Linked DNA regions of Homo sapiens: regions 2, 3 and 4 are each linked to region 1. Evidence: promoter capture Hi-C in 16 types of primary human blood cells and fetal thymus (Javierre and others, 2016). All regions are on one chromosome and are shown on one strand. The core of a region is centred on a gene start or on the middle of the fragment in contact, and the rest is flanking DNA. Distances in the headings are between cores, read along the strand shown. Region 1 holds the start of DMTF1 (cyclin D binding myb like transcription factor 1). Region 2 holds the start of ADAM22 (ADAM metallopeptidase domain 22). Region 3 overlaps DBF4 (DBF4-CDC7 kinase regulatory subunit). Region 4 overlaps SLC25A40 (solute carrier family 25 member 40).

Region 1 (4,818 bases), core at 1,523-4,022:
ACAGACAGATGTGTGTTTAATACAAGTGATGCAAGACGTCAATACTTTCAAAAACACTTCTAAGCTCCCTCAATATTTTAACATCTATGTGCCAGGCAGTAAATCCTTAGGAATACTTGTTTCACATTATCCCATTCATCCTCACAGGTGTTAATTTAAGCCAATGCACTTAATGAAGCATGGCAAAGGCAACTGTTTAAAATAATGAGATGTTATTTTCAGGACATGTAAGTTTATTACACCATTAATAAAAATTAGAGTCTGTAGATTTTGGAGAGATAAATGAGGCTAATAGAAAGGTAAGATTTTTTGCGGAGGAGGTAAAGGCAAGTTTTTTGTTGTTATTTAAATACTAACCAGTGATATCAAACTAACCTTATAAAATACATACACTATCTCCCCACCTTTAAAGCACCCCTGGGGTGTAATGAGATAACTAAAGGATTGAAAAAAGAGATCTCTAAAAAAAGGACTAGAGGACAGCTATCTACTTTTGATATGAGTCTCCACCAGTAAACATTTCCCAACCATGCTGTTTTCAAAGCTCAAGTCATAACGCCCAAACTTTGATTTCTTCCCCTCAAAATACTTCTAAAACCTGAACACTCAGAAAAATGTTTACATAAAATAATGTATTCATATAACTGCAACGTATGAACTTAAAGTTCTAAGAAAGATGCAATGCCCAGTACTTACTGATTAAATGTTGATGAAGACAGGGCAATAGCATTTTGGCTCCACCATTAGCTCAACTGCAACCAATTAAAGAGATTCACGCAGAATATGCAGGTGCTAAATCAGTCCCCAAAAGCATATTTTGGGGTGAGCCTATCAACTAAAATAGTAAGAAAAAAAATTAGCTTGTTTGGTGGCATACAGAAGCACCTAGTATCGAGAGTTAAAATGAGATAAAAATCACCACAATCATGAAATGTATTTTTCACACCTGTAACATAATGGTTTTTTCCAGATACAATCAGGCTGGTTTTTGTGCTTTCTGTATGGAAGAAAAAAATTATTCTCACACCAAATTGGATTCTCTCAGCATGACAATTTTTGTAACGTTAAGGAATGTAGCTTTAACCTTTTTTCTCTAAATCTTAACAGAATTTCTAAATCCTAACCAAATACATGAAATCCTGTCTCTAAGTACACCATAAGAGCAAAAAGATAAGATTTTGGTGTATCGCCATAGTCATTCTTTAAATGTTAAAGTGATGGCAAATTATTCAAGTTATTAAAAGACAGTAATCCTCAGAAAGCTATTTGAAATATAATTTCAAAACCAGCTTAAAGAAATTTGAAGTAATGAAAAAACATGAAAACCCTTAACTGAAAAAAACAGATTTTGCAATACTTTCAACATAGTGGAAGAATATTTTCGTATTTGGAGCTTAAAAGCTACAAATGGTTTTCTCCCACGAATTAAAAATACAGGTATAATTTAAAATTTTCCAAATGGCGTCACTTTAAGCTTAAGACATGTCATATTAAAAAATAATTCCACAGAATATGCATTTTGTAGGACGTCCCAACATGCAGCCTCGACTGTCAGAAAGGAGGCACACATAATCAAATCCATGTACATTAAAAAGAGGTACACAAAGATGAATGAGTTGCGAAAAAAGCAACTACACAAATTCAATGAGAGAAAGGGAGGAGTCCTGACTCATACTGTATACTATTATCCTTTTCCTTATCTACACCGAGTATTTTATATAAAGACATATGCTCTATCATTCAATTGCACAAAAGGGCACTTGGCCACTTCTACTCTCAAATCTGCTCTGGAGATTGTGGTAAAACATTCTACATACCTCCCTGAAGAAATTCTCAAAGCGAAGTACATTTTAGAGAACAAAGTGGACTTAACAATTTTAAGAACTTTCTCGGAACTCGGCACAATAGGGTAATTACAACTTTACAGCCGCATTTTCCGTGCTCCACCAGGACTGTCCCCGCGCCCCAGCCCACATCCCTTCTTTAAAGAGAGTCAGACTGAGAGAGACGGTTCGGCCAGCTATCCCGATTCTCTATGTCTGGGCCGTGAATCGCCGAGCAAGGCTGAACCCCCGCAAAATTACAGAAGAATCTAAAGCGCAAACGAGGGAAAAGAACAAAAAAGCAAAGGGGGGGAAGTTGGGTCGAGACCCACCCCCACTCTCTCGACCCCACCCAAGCCTACCTCTCCTACGCTGGACCATAAAACAAAACCGAAAACGTAACAAAAATAAAAACTAAAAATAGAACACCACGAGAAAACAAGTAGGGCTTCCTTACTGTCTCCACTCCTTCTGGCCCAGTTCTCTACTCAACCTCCCGGCCCACCCCACCCCCCAGGGGTCCCGGCGCCATTTAGCTCCTCCGAAGCCGCCGCCATTTTCCGCCCCCGCCGGATCGCCGCTGTGCCTCGGCAGCCGCTCGCTTCCCTACTCTGCAGCCTGAGCCACGGGCACCGCCCGGCCCTAAGAGGGAGGCCCTGGCCGGAACGTGCGGGGACGGCAGCTGCAACGTCAGGAAGGCCAGGCTCCGACCCCGCCCGCAGTGCCCCGGCGCCGACAGCTTGCGCCAGCCGGCGGGAGCTAGCGGGCAGCAAGGGGGCCGGACAGGCTCCACTGGGCGGAGCGGCCCTGGCGGCGGTTGGAACCTGAAGGTTCCATCGCACTTACTTCCTGTTTTGGGTCCGGGCACTTTGGAAGAACCAGGATGGAAGCTCCAAAAAATACCAGGATGGAGGAAGCAGCCACGGGCGAGAGTGGCTGCAGCTGGAGTGAGCGAGCGCGACGAGCCACCGGAAACGGAGCTGCGGCCGCGCCCCGCCCCCAGCTCCCCGCACGCTGCCCCTCCCGCTCGTCTGTCCCGCTGGCGGCCCAGCGTGCTGGCTGTACGCGTCACTTCCGGCTGTGTCGGCGCGCGAAAAAAGGTCCTGGGTTGGAATGTTTGTACTGGTCTGTGGCGGTGGTTGTCGGCTGTCCTGCCAGGAAAACTCGGCACTGACTATCCCACTGCTGATGCTGTAAAAGAGGTCCTTCTGCTATGACGCAACTGTGGTTCCTCTGGTTCTGGGGACACTTAGGCCTCGCGTGCCGATTTTCATAGTTCCCTGTGGCTCCGAGCCGAGGGAGCCGCGGTGTGGAACGGAGGGAACCAGTGATCTCAGTGCTGAAGAAAACAGGGAGTGTGTGTCTTCATACTTGATTTGCCTTACCGCAGGGGCATAATATGAGATATCTGGGCGTGTTAAGTCGTTCTTGATGAAATGTGTCCTCTGTGAATGTAGTCTCACTGTTAGACTAGGAAGATGCTGTTTTGCTGTGCCCAGTTCCTCTTAAAAGTACAGATGCTCCTTGGGTTGCAGCCGTATAAACCCATCCTAAATAGAAAACGCGTTTTAATACCCTTATAAACGAAAAGGATAAATAAGCCTTTGGGTTCTGTAATGTGAGCCAGCATTCTTTGAGTGCGTATGTGACAGGTAAATGTTTTACGTATATTAAACTCATTTAATGTTCATAAGTTCTAAGTGCATCGCTACAATTATTACAAATGAATCCCATTTTACACAGGAACCAAAGAGAAGTGAAGGAATGTGTCCAAGGGCTCCCAAGTTGGCGGTGGAATTAGAATTGAAGCCTCAGCTCCAAAGCCTGTGTTCTGAACTACCCGGTTGCAGTTCACAAAATACACTTTGGCAGTACTTTCATAACGAAAACAAATGATTACAACCAGTTTACAAATGCTTTGCTTTACTGGAGGATCGACATGTTTGACTAATTTTCAAAAATAAATCTCAGAAGCAGCATTTTCTTGTGTTGATAACTTTATTACTAATTTGTGGCACTCTGCATTCTGTTGGAGTTAAGCCGTGTATCATTCCATTTTTTAATAAGTACATAATAATGTTTATGTAAGCAAAACTATGAGGCAGAATAGTATCGTGGTATGGACTCAGGCAGTCAGACCTGAGTGTGAATCTTGGCTCCATTTCTTAGTAGTGGATATGGCACTTCACCTCTTTTAGCTTTGTTTACTTTAGGAGTAATAAGATGTACCTTCCAGAATATTGTAGACAGCGTAGTTTGCATGGAATCTGACGTGTATTAAGCATTAAAAATGGTAACTAATAAACCTTAAAGCCAGGAAAGCAATACAACTACTCAAAGAGCAGTTCTAATAAAATAATAATTACATATGCAAAATTGTTGACATTAACATTGATAAGGTGGTTCCTAATGAGCCATATTTTTCATAAGACATAACCATATAGGATTATTTTTGCTAAGGCACAAAATAGTGATATATAAATTATAGTCGGGCTATCCATTCTCCTCTGCTAAATTTTAGGTCAGCCTGCACGCTGCTAACTCCCCGCAAAAAGTCAAGTGCATCCTCATAACTAAATTCTCCCTTTCTGGTTGAGTTTCTTTTATAACTACCTTTTCCCAAGTCAATTGGTATTTATTTGGGGATGACAAATGTATTTTAATATTAGCTTAATGCATAATTTAAAAAAATATAATAACGTCTCTATCCCTTTAGCTTGAATAATCAATGTAAAGACTATCCATAACACAACTTGATTCCTAGAGCAATTTTCTGCAGTTATACTTCTATGTTATCCGTACCTCATTATTTAGTCAATGTGTACCTAGGGAATGGATGAGGTTTTAAATATTATCCAAGGATTTACCTATTTAGGAATTAAATGTTTTGTAGAAAAATCATTAGAAGTATTTCTATCCTAAACAATAATTATTAAAGTATTTATAGCTTAGCTATGGTATTTACTGCATTTGCTAGTTAAAATTGACTTTGTTG
Region 2 (4,818 bases), core at 1,612-4,111, 780 kb before region 1:
AGGTGGCACATGCCTGTAATCCAAGCTACTCAGGAAGCTGAGGTGGAAGGATCACTGGGGCCCAAGAGGTCAAGGCTGCTGTGAGCCATAATCGTGCTACTGCACTCCTGTCTGGGTGACAGAGTGAGACCCTGTCACAAAAAATAAATAAATAAACTAATTGCAATCTACAGACATTATCTGGGTCCTGGTCCAGACAAACTTACTTAAATATATACTCTAAATATACTCTCTCTCTCTATATATATATATATAATATATATACACACACATATAAACATTCACACACATACATATACATATATACATACATATTTACGAGAACTGGAAATTTGAAAAACAGGATATTTGATAGTAGTAAGAAATTACTCCTAATTTTTGAAAATACAGTAACATGGTTGCATTTTTAAAAGAATCCTTACTGTTTAGTGGTAAATTCCTATAATTTTTATGAATGAAATGATATGATTTGCTTCAATACAATATAGAGAGGGAAAGGAAATAGAAAAAGAAATACGTAGGGTATAGACAAAACAAGATTGGCCATGAGTTGCTAATTGTTGGAGCTGGGGGTTCATTAATTTATCCTACTCTTTTGTGTTTGAAATTTTTTATAATAAAAGGTTGCAAATGGTGTGAAAATATCCTTCCACAGAAATAATCTTAATTAATTGAAAAATACGATGACATAGGGAAACTATGGCCCCTGCTTCTTCAGTTTTACCATTGAAACGAGTCAAAATGGAAAAGGAAAATAGGCATTTACCAACCATTAATTCACATAAAAGAATCCATCATTAAAAGCTTAACATATTGGGATTTTCTACTAAAATAATCTTTGATGGATATTATGTAGCCCTTTAAGCTAATTTCCCACCTTCTATTAACAAAATGTTAACAGTACCAACTACTTGGCTACAAATACAGATTTAAGTAATATTTTCTATTTTTACATATTTCACACATACAGATAAGTTAGTATAATTATCACATCATCAAGATATATCTTAAAGCACTGATGAATATATTTATACATGTGAAAAGGTTTGGCTTGCCATTGCTTCAGTAAAGTTTACAAAAATTTTCAAGTACATGAACAAGTCCTATCTTAATATGGACTTACAGGTGGGTGAACTGCCTGATCAGCTGATGTGTAGAAATAAAAAAATACACAGCCCCAGAAGTATTTACTTAAATTTGTCAATAAATTCACAGTAATTTTCAGGCATATCTGTGAATGTGTGATCTTGATTTAAATACAGATACAGTGATAAAAACTAGATTTTTAAAAACATAATTTATAAATGCTCAACAAACAGCACAGCCCTAATTAAACCAAGAGAACTGCTACCAATAAAGAAAGTCGGAGGAGGACACCTTTTCTAGAAGGTAGGGGTGAATGGGCATATCTCTGGTGTCCACAAATGTGTGCGAATAGAACCTTAAAGTTCAGCTTGTTTTTACAGTTGGGTTTCTTAAGAACGTCTAGCCTTGTTTTTTTCCAATTTTTTCTTACAGTGTCAACCTTGGGTTAAATCACTTATGAAGTCTCTTTGAGGAGTAAAACAACAACAATGATGATTCAAACCCTGCCCAAATACTACCTCCCTTCTCGCTGTGCATGCCTGGCTTTTGCTTGACAGATGTCAGAGGGCTCTCCGCCTGTTCTCTCAGCTCACCGCACTGCTGAAGGCACCCCGCACAAACTCCCCTCGGGCAAAGCCCTCGGCCTGTGGTTATTTTGGTTCTTTTTTGTACCCTTTTCCCCTTCTTTTTTGCACAGGGAGCGCCATGCATGACTCGCATCGGGACCCAACTCATTTCACCCAAGAAGACATGGGATCTCCAGGGCAACCGAGCGCAATCGTGGGGTCTCGGGTGGGCCGGGAGGCGCGGAGGACCACCTCCCGGACCGAGCCTCTCACCTGCGGGCCACCGAGGTCGCCCCGCACCCGCGTGTCGAGCGCGTCGTGCCGACTTTCGTCTTCGCCGCCCGAGCGGTAGATGAGGCGCAGTGGCACGATGCTCTGGCGCTCCACGAAGCGGTTTTCCTTCCTCTTCTCTAGCTCCATCAATGAGGCGTCTCCTCCAGGCAGGAACCGGGAAAGGAGGGAGTGGAGAGAAAAGGCGAAAATAATGACCCTGACCCTCACTCCTCCATCCTGCAGTCCTACGTCTCCCCTACGAAAATCCCCACCGCCCCCTCCCTCTCGGAACCCAACTGGGAAGGACGCAGAGACACCAGCCCGAGAGCCTTGGACCAGCTCATCCGAGAGCAACCAGGAGCGGGGCCCAGAAGCAGGGCACCCCTTTCCCATTCTCCCCATTCCTCTTCAGAAGGAGAAAAACAGGCTTTGACCGAAGGCTTCCAGTGCATCTGCGCGCCTCCACACATATATTTTTGCTCCACTTCTCACCACCCTCCCGAATTAAAAAAAAAAAAAAAAAAAATCTCCCCGCGCACTCGGGAAATGGGGATGCCCCCTTTTCAATACGCCTGAGGGCTCCAAAGATTCCCGGGAAATGGTATGGCCCAAAGGCACAGAGGACGGCTAACTTACCTGCCTGGCCGCAGCGCGCCGGAGGGCAGGTCCCCAGGACACAGAGCAGCAAGAAGGGCACGGACACAGCCACTGCCGCCTGCATGGTGCTGCCGTCAGCCCGCCTCGCCCGAGACGCTCAGCTCCTCATGCCGGCGCCGCCGAGTCCGTTTCCCTCGCTCCGCGCCCCCGGGGTCCCCGCGGCCACCTCCACCCAGCCCCGGCCGGTGCTGCGGCGGCCGTGGCGCTGCAACCTCCACCGCGGCTCAGTGCTGCATTGTGCTTCGCGGACGCTTCCGCTGGCGGGGGGAGCGAGCGAGTGCTGCATTGGGCGGTTGGCTGTAGCTAAGTGGTTTCTAGCGCCTCCCACCTCATCCCCTGGCAAAGGCTCGGGCGGGCGACAAGAGCTCGGCAGGGAGCGAGCGCCCGGTGCACTCGCCCCCCGCGCGCAGGCAAGGGCGCGCGCAGGAGAGTCAGCTGGGAAATGTAGTTCTCTCTCCGTGTCCCGCTTGTCTCCACGACGGCACGGACCGTCGCGACCTCGTGACTGTGAGGTCCTCTATATCCCACAGACTGGAAGGGCGGGAGGGAAGGGCAAAAGAAAGAGATCAGCACTGGACCGCCTCCTGGCATCCGAGATGCACCAACTGGGCCGTTACAGCAGCCAGTATTCATCTGCATCGTCCTTAAAGAGCTGTTCTGTTTACCACAGATTAGTAGTTACTTAAGTTATCCGGAGAACCATACCCTCACGAATACAGTGCTAGTGAATTATTCAACAAATACAGATTGAGGATATACTATGTACCCAGCGGTTGACAACCGGAAGGACACGGGGATCAGAGGCACCTGTTCTTGGGTAAAGTTGAGCAGACAGACCACTTTTTTTTACAATACAGTGTGAAAAGTGTCATGGTTATACCTAGAGGACCATTAATTCAGTCCAGGGAGTCAAAGAGGACCTCCCAGGGAAGGTCTCTGCAGGTAATAGAGGGATGATTTAGCTTAACTCTACGGGATATTTTTGTTCTTTATTGCCAGACAGCCTCAAAACTCTACCAGATATGGGGAACTCAGTTTTCTCAGGCTGCTTATTCCATTTTCCTCTGATTCAAAATGATAGAAATTCTTGAGTATAAAACAATAATAAAATAGTTATCTACATAAAGTAATACTTGTATTTTTTAGTTTTTCAAAGTTCACATGTATTATCTGATCCTTTGGTCAAGAATTTGATTATAACTATTACTCTGATTTTATATTTATGTATGTACGTATGTATGTATGTATGTATTTTTGAGATAGGGTCTTGCTCTGTCGCCCCAACTGGAGTGCAAGTGGTGAGAACACGGCTCACTGCAGCTCAAGCTCCTGGGCTCAAGCCATCCTCCTGCCTCAGCCTCCCAAATAGCTGGGACCACAGACATGTGACACCACACCTGGCTATTTTTTGTTATTATTATTACTTTTTGTAGAGACAAGAGTCTCCCCATGATGATCAGGATGCTCTTGAACTCTTGGGCTCCACCTTGGCCTCACAAAGTGCTGGGATTGCAGATGTGAGCCACTGCACATGCCTACTCCCATTTTAGAAAGGAAAAAAATTAAGATTTAGAGGTGTGCCTTTCAAATACTGTAGCCAGTAGTTACTTGAGGCTATTTTTTTTTTCCGAGTGTTTATTATTTATTTTTGTATTTCAATCGCTTTTGGGGAACAGGTTGTGTTTGTTTACATGAATAAGTTCTTTAGTGGTGATTTCTGAGATTTTGGTGTACCCATCACCCGAGCAGTGTACACTGTACCCAATGTGTAGTCTGTTATCCCTCACCATCCCCCACCCTTTCCCCTGAGTCCCCAAGTCCAATGTATCATTCTTATGCCTTTGTGTCCTCATAGCTTAGCTCCCACATATGAGTGAGAACATGCAAAGTTTGGTTTTTCATTCTTGAGTTACTTTACTTAGAATAATAGTCCCCATTTCCATCCAGGCTGCTGCGAATGCCATTATTTTGTTCCTTTTTATGCCTGAATAGTATTCCATGGTATATATATGCCACATTTTCTTTATCCACTCGTTGATTGATGGGCCTTTTGACTGGTGCCATATTTTTGCTATTGTAAATTGTGCTGCTATAAACATGTATGTGCAAGTTTCTTTTTTGTATAATGACTTATTTTCCTCTGGGTAGATACCTAGTAGTGGGATTGCTGGATCAAATAGTAGATCTCCTTTTAGTTCTTTAAGGAATCTCCATATTGTTTTCCATAGTGGTTATA
Region 3 (4,818 bases), core at 635-3,134, 740 kb before region 1:
ACTGCAAGCTGGAGATTGATCCATGAAAAGAGCAAGTTAGAGAAAGGGATCCCTAATTCCCTATATAAATCCATGCAAGTGCAGGGCTTACCTCCAAGTTGCACATGCTAAGGATAGACCCAACGCAGCATAGCAAGGGCTTTGAAAATTGAAACTGAGATTAGATCCACCCCACCCACAACCACCAAGACAGAACAGTCTGAACAAAACTGGGATGACTGTCCGCTAAAACAATGGCAGAAACAAAATCAGCATCCTACAGACTATCAGGATATAGGGCCTACACAACATTTAGAATGTCCAGTATACAGTCAAAACTTAAATTTCACATGTAAACAACCAGAAAAACATTATCAATTTTTGAGAGAAAAGGACAATCAGATGCCAACCCCAACATGTTCCTGATATTGTAATTATTAGAAAAAGACTTTAAAAGTAAAGGTAAACACACTTAAGATGAATGGAAAGAGACAAATTCTCAGCAGAAAAACTACAAATAAGAACCAAACAAAAATAATAGGACTGAAAAATATACTATCTGAGTGAGATAACAAAATTCACTGGATAAGCTCAATAGCAGAACATGTATGACACAATTAAGTATTAGTGAACTTCAAGACAAATGAATAGAAATCTCCAATTGGAAGAAAAGAGGAAACAAAAAAGACTAAGGAAAAAAGGAAAAGAGCCACAGGGATCTGTGGAATAACATCAAGATGTCTAACTTTATTGTCAACTGGAATGGTGGAAAAAGAGGGGAGAGACTAGTGAAGAAAAAAAATTAACAAAATAATAGCTGAAAACTTTCCAAACATAAATTTACACAAATCAATAAGCTCAGTGAACCAAGTGTAGGCACAATCGAACTTCTGAAACCAAAGATAAAGAAAAAAATCTTAAAAGCAGCCAGAGAAAAATGATACAGTAGATATAAATGAATACCAATTTGAGTAACTGCAGATTTCTCGTCAGAATCCATGGAGACCAGAAGACAGTTTTAGGACAAGAGTAAGGTGCTGAGACAAAGAACTCTCAATTCATGATTCTTTTTCCAGTAAAGATATGATCACATGAAGGATATCTCAGAGAATTCCTTGTGCCACCAGATTTGCTCTAAAACATGCTAAAGTAAGTCCTTCAGGCTAAAGGGATATATCCGAAGAAAACCTGTAATTTCAGGAAGGAAGAGTAATGGAAAGGTTAACATCTGGGTTAATAGGACTATTTTCCTCCTGTCGCTTTCTTTAAAACCCAACTTTTTTTTTCTTTTTTTTCCCCGAGACAGGGTCTTGCCCTGTCGCAAGCAGTGGCATGATCTTGCCTCTCTGCAACCTCCGCCTCTTGGGCTAAGGCCATCATGCCACCTCAGCCTCCTAAGCAGGTGGGACTACAGGCGCATGCCACCAGGCCTGGCTAATTTATATATATATTTTTTGTAGAGATGGGGTTTCACCATGTTGCCCAGGCTGGTCTCGAACTTCTGAGCTAAAGTGATCCACCCACCTTGGCCTCCCAAAGTGCTGGGATGACAGGTGTGAGCCACCAGGCCCAGCCCTAAAATATGACTTTTTCAAGCAAAAAGTTTAACATTGTCTGGTGACATTTTCATTATAAGAAGATGTACTAAACATTATGGCATAAAGGTTGGTGGGGAAGGTAAAAGGGCTTGAATATTTTAAGGCTTCTACATTTTATTTGAAGAAGGTAAATATTAATTCAAGATAGATTGCGAAAGGTCACACATGTATATCGTAAATCCTATAGCAACCACTAAAATAAAACAACAAAAATGAAGAGAGTTAAAAAGCTGGCAGATCAATCTGAAAGAAGGCAGGAAAGGGGGAAACAGAAATAAAATACAGAGGGCATCAGCAGAAAACTAACAGTAAGATGGTAGACCTAAATACAAGATCAATAGTTACATTAAGTATAAATCACTTAAACTACCAATTAAAAGACAGATTGCCAAATTTGATGAAAAAGACAATATCTGCAAGAAGTCCATTTTAAATATATAGATATGTTAAATGCAAAAGACTGCAAAAAGTACTATGTAAATACTAATAAAAATAAAGCCAGAATGGTCTACATCAGAGAGCAGACTTCAGAATAAGAATTAACAGGGACAGAAGAGAGAGCATTACAGAGGCTAGAAGGGTCAATTCACCAGGAAGACATAAGAAGGCCGGGCGCGGTGGCTCACGCCTGTAATCCCAGCACTTTGGGAGGCCGAGGCGGGTGGATCATGAGGTCAGGAGATCGAGACCATTCTGGCTAACAAGGTGAAACCCCGTCTCTACTAAAAATACAAAAAATTAGCCGGGCGCGGTGGCGGGCGCCTGTAGTCCCAGCTACTCGGGAGGCTGAGGCAGGAGAATGGCGTGAACCCGGGAAGCGGAGCTTGCAGTGAGCCGAGATTGCGCCACTGCAGTCCACAGTCCGGCCTGGGCGACAGAGCGAGACTCCGTCTCAAAAAAAAAAAAAAAAAAAAGAATATTAAATGTGTACATATCCAACAACAGGCTTCAAAATGACTCAAAACTGTACTAGAACTAAAAGGAAAACTAGACAAATCCACAATTTTACTTGGTAATTTCAATATCCCTCTCTCTCAGTAGTGGACAGAACAAGGCCTGAGCAACATTTCTATATCCTGGATACAGAAAACATGAGCAACGCTATCACTCAAGTTGATCTAACTGACTTGTAAACAATACTGTACCCAACCACAGCAGAATATACATTTTCTTCAACTGCACATGGAATGTTACCAAGATAGACTATATTTTGGGTAACTCTGATAAATTTTTTAAAACTAAAATAATAAAAAGCACGTTATATGGCCATAACAGAATTAAAATAGAAATCAGTAAACAGAAAGATAGCTGAAAAATTCCTATTTGGAAACAAATGATAAAAGTAACCCCACAGGACAATGAGTAAGTCACAAGAGAAATTTAAAAATATTTTTAATTGAATAAAGATGAAAATCCAACCTATCAGCAACAGGAACTCTCATTCATTGCTGGTGGGAATACAAAATGGCACAACTACTTTGGAAGACAGTTTGGCATATTATAACAAAACTAAACCTAGTCTTACTATGTGAAGCAGCAATCATACTCTTTGGTTATTTACCCAAATGAGTTGACAATATGTCCACAAAAAAACCCTGCACGTGGATATTTACATTAGCTTTATGCATAACTGCCAGAACTTGGAAGCAACCAAGATGTCCTTTAGTAGGTAAATGGATAAACTGTGCTGCATATAGAAAATGAAATATTACTCAGATTTTAAAAAGAGCTGTCAAGCCATGAAAAGACATGGAGGAACCTTAAATAAGCATTACCAAGTGAAAGAAGCCAATCAAAAAAGGAAACACACTGTATGATTCCAACTATATGACACTGTGGAAAAGGCAAAACCATGGTGAATGTAAAAGCATCAGGAGTTATCTGGGGTTTAAGGGAATGGGGGGATAAACACGGAAGATTTTTAGGGCAGTGGAACCATTCTGTATGATACTATAATGATGGACACACGTCATAATCATACTTGTCAAAACTCATAGAATGTACAACACTAAGAGTGAGCCAAAATGTGAACTATGAACTTTGGATGATAATGATGTGTCAATGTTAAGTTCATCGATTATAACAAATGTACCACTCTGGTGTGGGATGTTAGGACAAGGAGTATGTAAAACATCTCTGTACCTTTCATTCGATTTTACTGGGAACCAAAAACTTCTCTAAAAAAATAAAGTCTATTGATAAAATATCCAGTGTAAAATGTGTGGGATGCAGCTAAAGGAAAGCTTAAAGAAAATTTATAGCATTAAGATAAAAGAAAGGTCTCAAATCAATGATTCAAGCTTTTTACCTAAGAAACTACAAATAGAAATATAAACCCAAAATAGGCAGAAGAAAAGAAATAAGAGCAGAAATCAATAAAACTGAAAACAGAAAACCACACACACAAAAAATCAATGCCACTAAAGGCTGTTTCCTTGAAAATATTAATAACTGGTAAAACTAGCCAGATTGACTAAGAAAAAAGGAATAGACACAAAATAGCATTATCAGGAATGGAAGAGGGGACATTATTACAGTTCCCATAGACATTACAAAGTTAATAAGGGAGTATTAGAAACAACTCTTTGCCCATCAATTTGACAACCAAGACACAATGGACAAATTCCTTGAAAAACAGACTACCAACATGCACTGAAGAGAAAATAACCTGAATTATCCTATATCTAATGAATAAATTGAATTCATAGTTAAGAATCTTCCAACAAAGAAAAATGTCAGGGCTAGATAGCCTTGCTAGTAAATTCTACCAAACATTTAAAGAAATAAAAACAATTCTATAAAAACTTCTCTGGAAAATAGAAACAGGAACACATATCAGTGTGTTCTGAAAATAGGATTAAACATTCCACTAAAACCAGACAAAGACATCAAAGAAAAAGACCAATATTCCTCCTGCACATGTATGTAAAAAATTCGACAAAATAAGTTTTGAGTAAACTGGAAAAAAAAAAAAAAAAGAAAAGCCCAAACCTCAAAGCACTTTAAATAAAGCAATGAGTAAAATACCTTTATCCAATTACCATATTTTAAATAAGATACATACTAATAAGAACATTTATGGGAACCTAATAAACATTTTGAAATTTATACATGTCCATTCAAGACTCTTAAATGTAATTTCACTAATTTTGTTTTAGTACTTGGCAAACTAAAAATTTTCCAGAAACATTCCTTTCTTATATACCAAAATAAAAATTTCCAGTATGAGTATCAATTCAAC
Region 4 (4,818 bases), core at 741-3,240, 710 kb before region 1:
GAAAAAAAATTATATGTAATTTGACAGAGAATTTGATAAGTCATGGATAAGTAGGAACTCTCATATTGCCAGTAGAAGTATAGATTGATCCAAGCTTTCTGGAAAGCATCATGGCAATTTGTATGACGTTTTTTTTGTTGTTGTTGTTTTGATTTTGACATGTAGTCTTCTCTGTCACCTAGGCTGGAGTGCAGTAATGCGATCTTGGCTCATTGCAACTTCTGCCTCCTGGGTTAAAGGGATTCTCATGCCTCAGTCCCCCACGGAACTGGGACTACAGGTTTGCGCCACCATGCCCTGCTAATTTTTTGTATTTTTAGTAGAGACTGGATTTCACCATGTTGGCCAGGCTGGTCTCAAACTCCTGACCTCAGGTAATCCACCTGCCTTGGCCTCCCAAAGTGCTAGGATTACAGGTGTGAGCCACCACACCTGGCCCTGTATCAAGTTTTAAAATAGCTTATCCCATCAATCTTACTATCTTTCCTACAGTAATTGTAGGAAGGTTACAAAAATATATATATGTATGTATAAGAATGTTATAGCAGAATATTTTATAGTTTGGAAATTGGCAACAACCTGATATCTAACAATCTGAAACTGATTAAATAAATATAATTAACTACCGTGCAAGCAATAAAAATGTAAATCTGTTTTTATTGACACAATGTCTATAATGTGTTTTTAAGTGTTAAAGCAGCCTACTAAACAAGCAAAATAGTATTGACCTGTTTTTCAGAAAAGCTGTATGTACACGGACACATAAGTGTACGTGTGTTTGATTAATATACAATATTTGGTTAGATGTAATGTGTGTGTATAGACATATACATATGTATGTGTGTATGTTCATAGACATTTGGAAAGATGACATTCCTGTTGCTGGTGATTATTATTATTATTTTTTTTTGAGACAGAGTCTTGCTCTGTTGCCCAGGCTGGAGTGCAGTGGTGCGATCTCGGCTCACTGCAAGCTCCGCCTCCTGGGTTCACGCCATTCTCCTGCCTCAGCCTCCCGAGTAGCTGGGACTACAGACACCTGGCTAATTTTTTGTATTTTTAGTTGAGACAGGATTTCACCATGTTAGCCAGGTTGGTCTCGATCTCCCGACCTCATGATGCGCCCGCCTCGGCCTCCAAAAGTGCTGGGGTTACAGGTGTGAGCCACCACGCCTGGCCGGTGATTATTTTTGAATAGTAAGTTCATAAGTTATTTTTATACTGTTCTGTATTATCTGACTTTTTAAAACTTTTTATGTTTTTATGTTGCTTTTCTCATCAAATTTTTGTAAGATAAAACTTATTAAGGTTATGTGTTTTTATTTTACATCTGTACAACAACTACTGGTATACAATAAAGGGCTGTATTTGCTGATACCTCTGTACTCTATTGGGGAGGTTTTTTTAGTAGTGTGTATGAGGCTGAGTTCACAGACTCAGACTTAGTGGTCACCTGCTTTCATTCTGTCAGTATCTGTTTGGTTAATTCTCTCTTAGTTGTCTTACTAATGTGATGCTGCTCACCCAGCTTAGCTGAAGGATGTTATCATTTTTGAAAGATCAGAGGATGTGCTCTAATTTTATGTTTTCTTTTTAACAGGTTTTTATTTAATTAGTTAAAAATATGGATCCTGAGACAAGGGGACAAGAGATTATCAAAGTGACACCTCTTCAACAAATGCTTGCCTCATGTACTGGAGCTATACTGACATCAGTAATAGGTAAAATTATGTTACTGATGTAGATTATGTAACTTTGAATGAGTCAGTGCTTCCATTTGAGTTTTAGTATCAGTATTTCAACGTAGTTTCTTTCTATTTTCCATAAGTATTGGCTGGCTGAGAAATAAAGAGTACAAAGAGAGGAATTTTACAGCTGGGCCTCCGGGGGTGACATCACATATTGGTAGGACCGTGATTGCCCACCTGAGCTGCAAAACTAGCAAGTTTTATTAAGGATTTCAAAAGGGGAGGGGGTGTAAGAACAGGGAGTAAGGTCACAAGATCACATGCTTCAAAGGGTAAAAAGGAGAACAAAAATCACATGCTTCTGAGGAAACAGGACAAGGGCAAAATCACAGACTCCTGATAAGGGTCCAGCAAAGATCACAAGGCAAAGGGCAAAAGCAGAATTACTGATAAGGGTCTATGTTCAGCAGTGCACGTTTTGTCTTGATAAACATCTTAAACAACAGAAAAGAGGGTTTGAGAGCAGAGATCCAGTCTGACCTCAAATTTACCAGGGTGGAGTTGCCCAATCCTAGTAAGCCTGAGGGTACTGCAGGAGACCAGGGCGTATTTCAGTCTTTATCTCAACGGCATAAGACAGACACTCCCAGAGTGGCCATGTATAGACCTCCCACCAGGAATGCATTCCTTCCCCAGGGTATGAATTATTAATATTCCTTGCTAGGAAAATAATTTAGCAATATCTTCCCTACTTGCATGTCCGTTTATAGGCTATCTGCAAGAAGAAAAATATGGCTCTATTTTGCCCGACCCTGCGGGCAGTCAGACCTTATGGTTGTCTTCCCTTGTTCCCTAAAATCGCTGTTATTCTGTTCTTTTTCAAGGTGCACTTATTTCATATTGTTCAAACATACATGTTTTACAATCAATTTGTACAGTTATCACAATTATCATAGTGGCCCTGATGTGATGTACATCCTTAGCTTATAAAAATAACAGGATTAAGAGATTAAAGTAAGACAGGGGTAAGAAATTATGAAAGTATTATTTGGGAACTGGTAAATGTCCATGAAATCTTCAGAATTTATGTTCCTTTGCTGCGGCTCCACCTGGTCCCTCCATTCAGGATCCCTGACTTCCTGCAACACATACTATCATTTATGATCCATGAATGTTTCATCATATTATTATATGAAAACAACCCTGGACAGAGATTCAAGAGACTTGAGTCCTTGCTTTGCCATTCTCACGGTGAATACACTTGGGAACAGTATCTAACTTTTATTTGAACTTCATTATTTCATCTGTAAATTAGGGGCTTATAACTGGGATTTCTTTTGGGTCCCTATCAACATTAAACTTTTCTGATTCCCCATGTCTATAATAGAAAGCAAGAAGATGGAATAAAATATTAGCATAATGAATAATACAGAATTTTCACAATTTATGTTCGTAACAATTACAAATAATCTTTACTTTGCATTAACGGAATTTCTTAAATTTCTCTGGTTCACAGTTTTCTGTTTCTTACAGTCAGCTTCTTGTAGATGTAGCCAAATGACACAGTTAGGTGATAGTTTAGCATTTTAATGATTTTTAAGTTGGCTAGTTTATGTAAATAACAAATGATTAGAACAAATAAATTAATTGCTTATGATGTATTTTCAGGTCAGAATTTGAGTTATAAAGGTCATAGAGATCATCTAATATAATTATCATCATTCTCAAGATGAGGAAAAGTTTTCTTAGAAACATTATTTGGCATTTGTTTCTACTTGGATAAAATATAGCATGCATATTAAAACTATTTTCCTTTGCTGTGCTATGCCCAAATGGAATAACATAACTTAGTGCTAAAGATGTTTTATGACTAGTTTACTCAAATTTTTATTATCTGTACCTCTTATTTGATACAGGTAAATTTAACAGATTGGGAAGACTAATATCATTTGGCTATTGATTACTTATAGAAAGTTATTCTCAAAGTCTTTTGGAACTTTTACTTCTTATATTAGAAATCATATTTTCTTATAAATACTGACTTTAATGCTAATGTAATGATAGTTGTAGGAATATTACAAATAACAGTTTAGTACTCATGAGAGAAGTAATTCGTCTGTCTTTCACTGATTAACAAAATTTAAGGGCAAAAAAATTAGAATGTTACATTCAAGACTACTTTAAGATAAATAAGCTTACCAATTATATAGCCATGAGGAAAAGTATGAATCAATGTATTTTGTGTTCTGTGTAAAACATCTATCCAATTTACAGATACCACTCGCTAATTGAAACTTAACATATCTTCATAGTGACACCCCTGGATGTTGTTAAAATTAGACTCCAAGCCCAAAACAACCCACTCCCCAAAGGTATGTGTACTAATTGCCCTAAAAATGTTATGTTTGATTTTTAAATGTTCCTGTGGTTTTTTTTTTTGCCTAACATTCATTTGCTAATTTATTAAAATTGATGCCTCTTTATCCTCATGAAAAACTTTTTTTTTCACCATTTAGTTGTACGTGATGAGGTGTAGGCAAAAAGCAAATAAATACATAATATTTATATGGACCTACTAATTAAAGCAAAGGATGGTTATGTATTTGTATTTGTGCCTCAGAGGTAAGAACAGAATTATATTTGTGAGGGACCTTAGAATCCAGCTTACTCCTGTGTCCAAAAGTTGTGCCCATGTTAGAGCATTCATGACCATCATACAACTATTGCTTGAATATAGTGATTGGAAATTTATTATTTTATCAGACAGCTTGGTTAATTTCTGGATAGTAGTTTATGTAGAATTTGAGACAAATAATGATGTATTTTTATAAGATAGGCAAAATTCGCAATTCCTTAGATTTTATAGGTTTATAAAGATAATGGCATTGCAACCATATTTTAAGTGGCAGAAAACACGTGTTTGGACTGTGAGAAAATTGGCTCAGATATAAAGCCACTGTGTTGAATTCAGAGTGGTGAGATGGAATGAACAGCCCTGGTATTTTAGATGAATGAAAGGATAGATTGATTGTAGGAAGATGCTGAAAAGGTAATTTCCTATACATTAAAGAAAGCCATAAAAGCAGAAGGAAACACTCAGACCTAAGTATTACAAAATTCACAGCTTTGT

The links. The method cuts DNA at HindIII sites, captures the fragments that hold promoters and counts their contacts. A CHiCAGO score of 5 or more calls a contact.
Region 2: the fragment with the promoter of ADAM22 here is called in contact with the fragment with the promoter of DMTF1 in region 1 in 5 of 17 cell types (fetal thymus, total CD8 T cells, non-activated CD4 T cells and 2 more); the score reaches 7.3 in fetal thymus.
Region 3: a contact is called between a fragment that was not itself captured here and the fragment with the promoter of DMTF1 in region 1, in 4 of 17 cell types (fetal thymus, total CD4 T cells, monocytes and 1 more). The highest score is 7.4, in fetal thymus.
Region 4: a contact is called between a fragment that was not itself captured here and the fragment with the promoter of DMTF1 in region 1, in 2 of 17 cell types (total CD4 T cells and monocytes). The highest score is 5.5, in total CD4 T cells.

The regions. Positions count from the first base shown.
Region 1 is chr7:87,150,407-87,155,224 of GRCh38, reverse strand. It overlaps DMTF1 (cyclin D binding myb like transcription factor 1), which reads right to left and starts at 2,772. Exons shown (of 18, transcript NM_001142327.2): 1 at 2,670-2,772. DMTF1-AS1 (DMTF1 antisense RNA 1) reads left to right here and starts at 2,732. Exons shown (of 2, transcript NR_136253.1): 1 at 2,732-2,923; 2 at 3,567-3,802. RefSeq lists enhancers at 2,577-3,138, 2,984-3,223, 3,139-3,702. The HindIII fragment of the contact is 3,514 bases long and covers 1,477-4,818 here.
Region 2 is chr7:87,932,294-87,937,111 of GRCh38, reverse strand. ADAM22 (ADAM metallopeptidase domain 22) reads right to left here and starts at 2,861. Exons shown (of 32, transcript NM_001324418.2): 1 at 2,562-2,861; 2 at 1,926-2,086. The coding sequence starts at 2,646. RefSeq lists enhancers at 1,599-1,678, 1,689-1,738, 1,287-1,864, 1,865-2,442 and a silencer at 2,549-2,958. The HindIII fragment of the contact is 4,406 bases long and covers 807-4,818 here.
Region 3 is chr7:87,890,910-87,895,727 of GRCh38, reverse strand. All of the region lies in intron 6 of DBF4 (DBF4-CDC7 kinase regulatory subunit), which reads right to left. Among named protein-coding and RNA genes, the nearest start is that of DBF4, 17 kb to the right of the region's middle. The HindIII fragment of the contact is 3,877 bases long and covers 1-3,822 here.
Region 4 is chr7:87,855,534-87,860,351 of GRCh38, reverse strand. SLC25A40 (solute carrier family 25 member 40) reads left to right here. Exons shown (of 12, transcript NM_018843.4): 3 at 1,601-1,721; 4 at 4,001-4,060. The coding sequence starts at 1,625. Among named protein-coding and RNA genes, the nearest start is that of SLC25A40, 18 kb to the left of the region's middle. The HindIII fragment of the contact is 3,788 bases long and covers 97-3,884 here.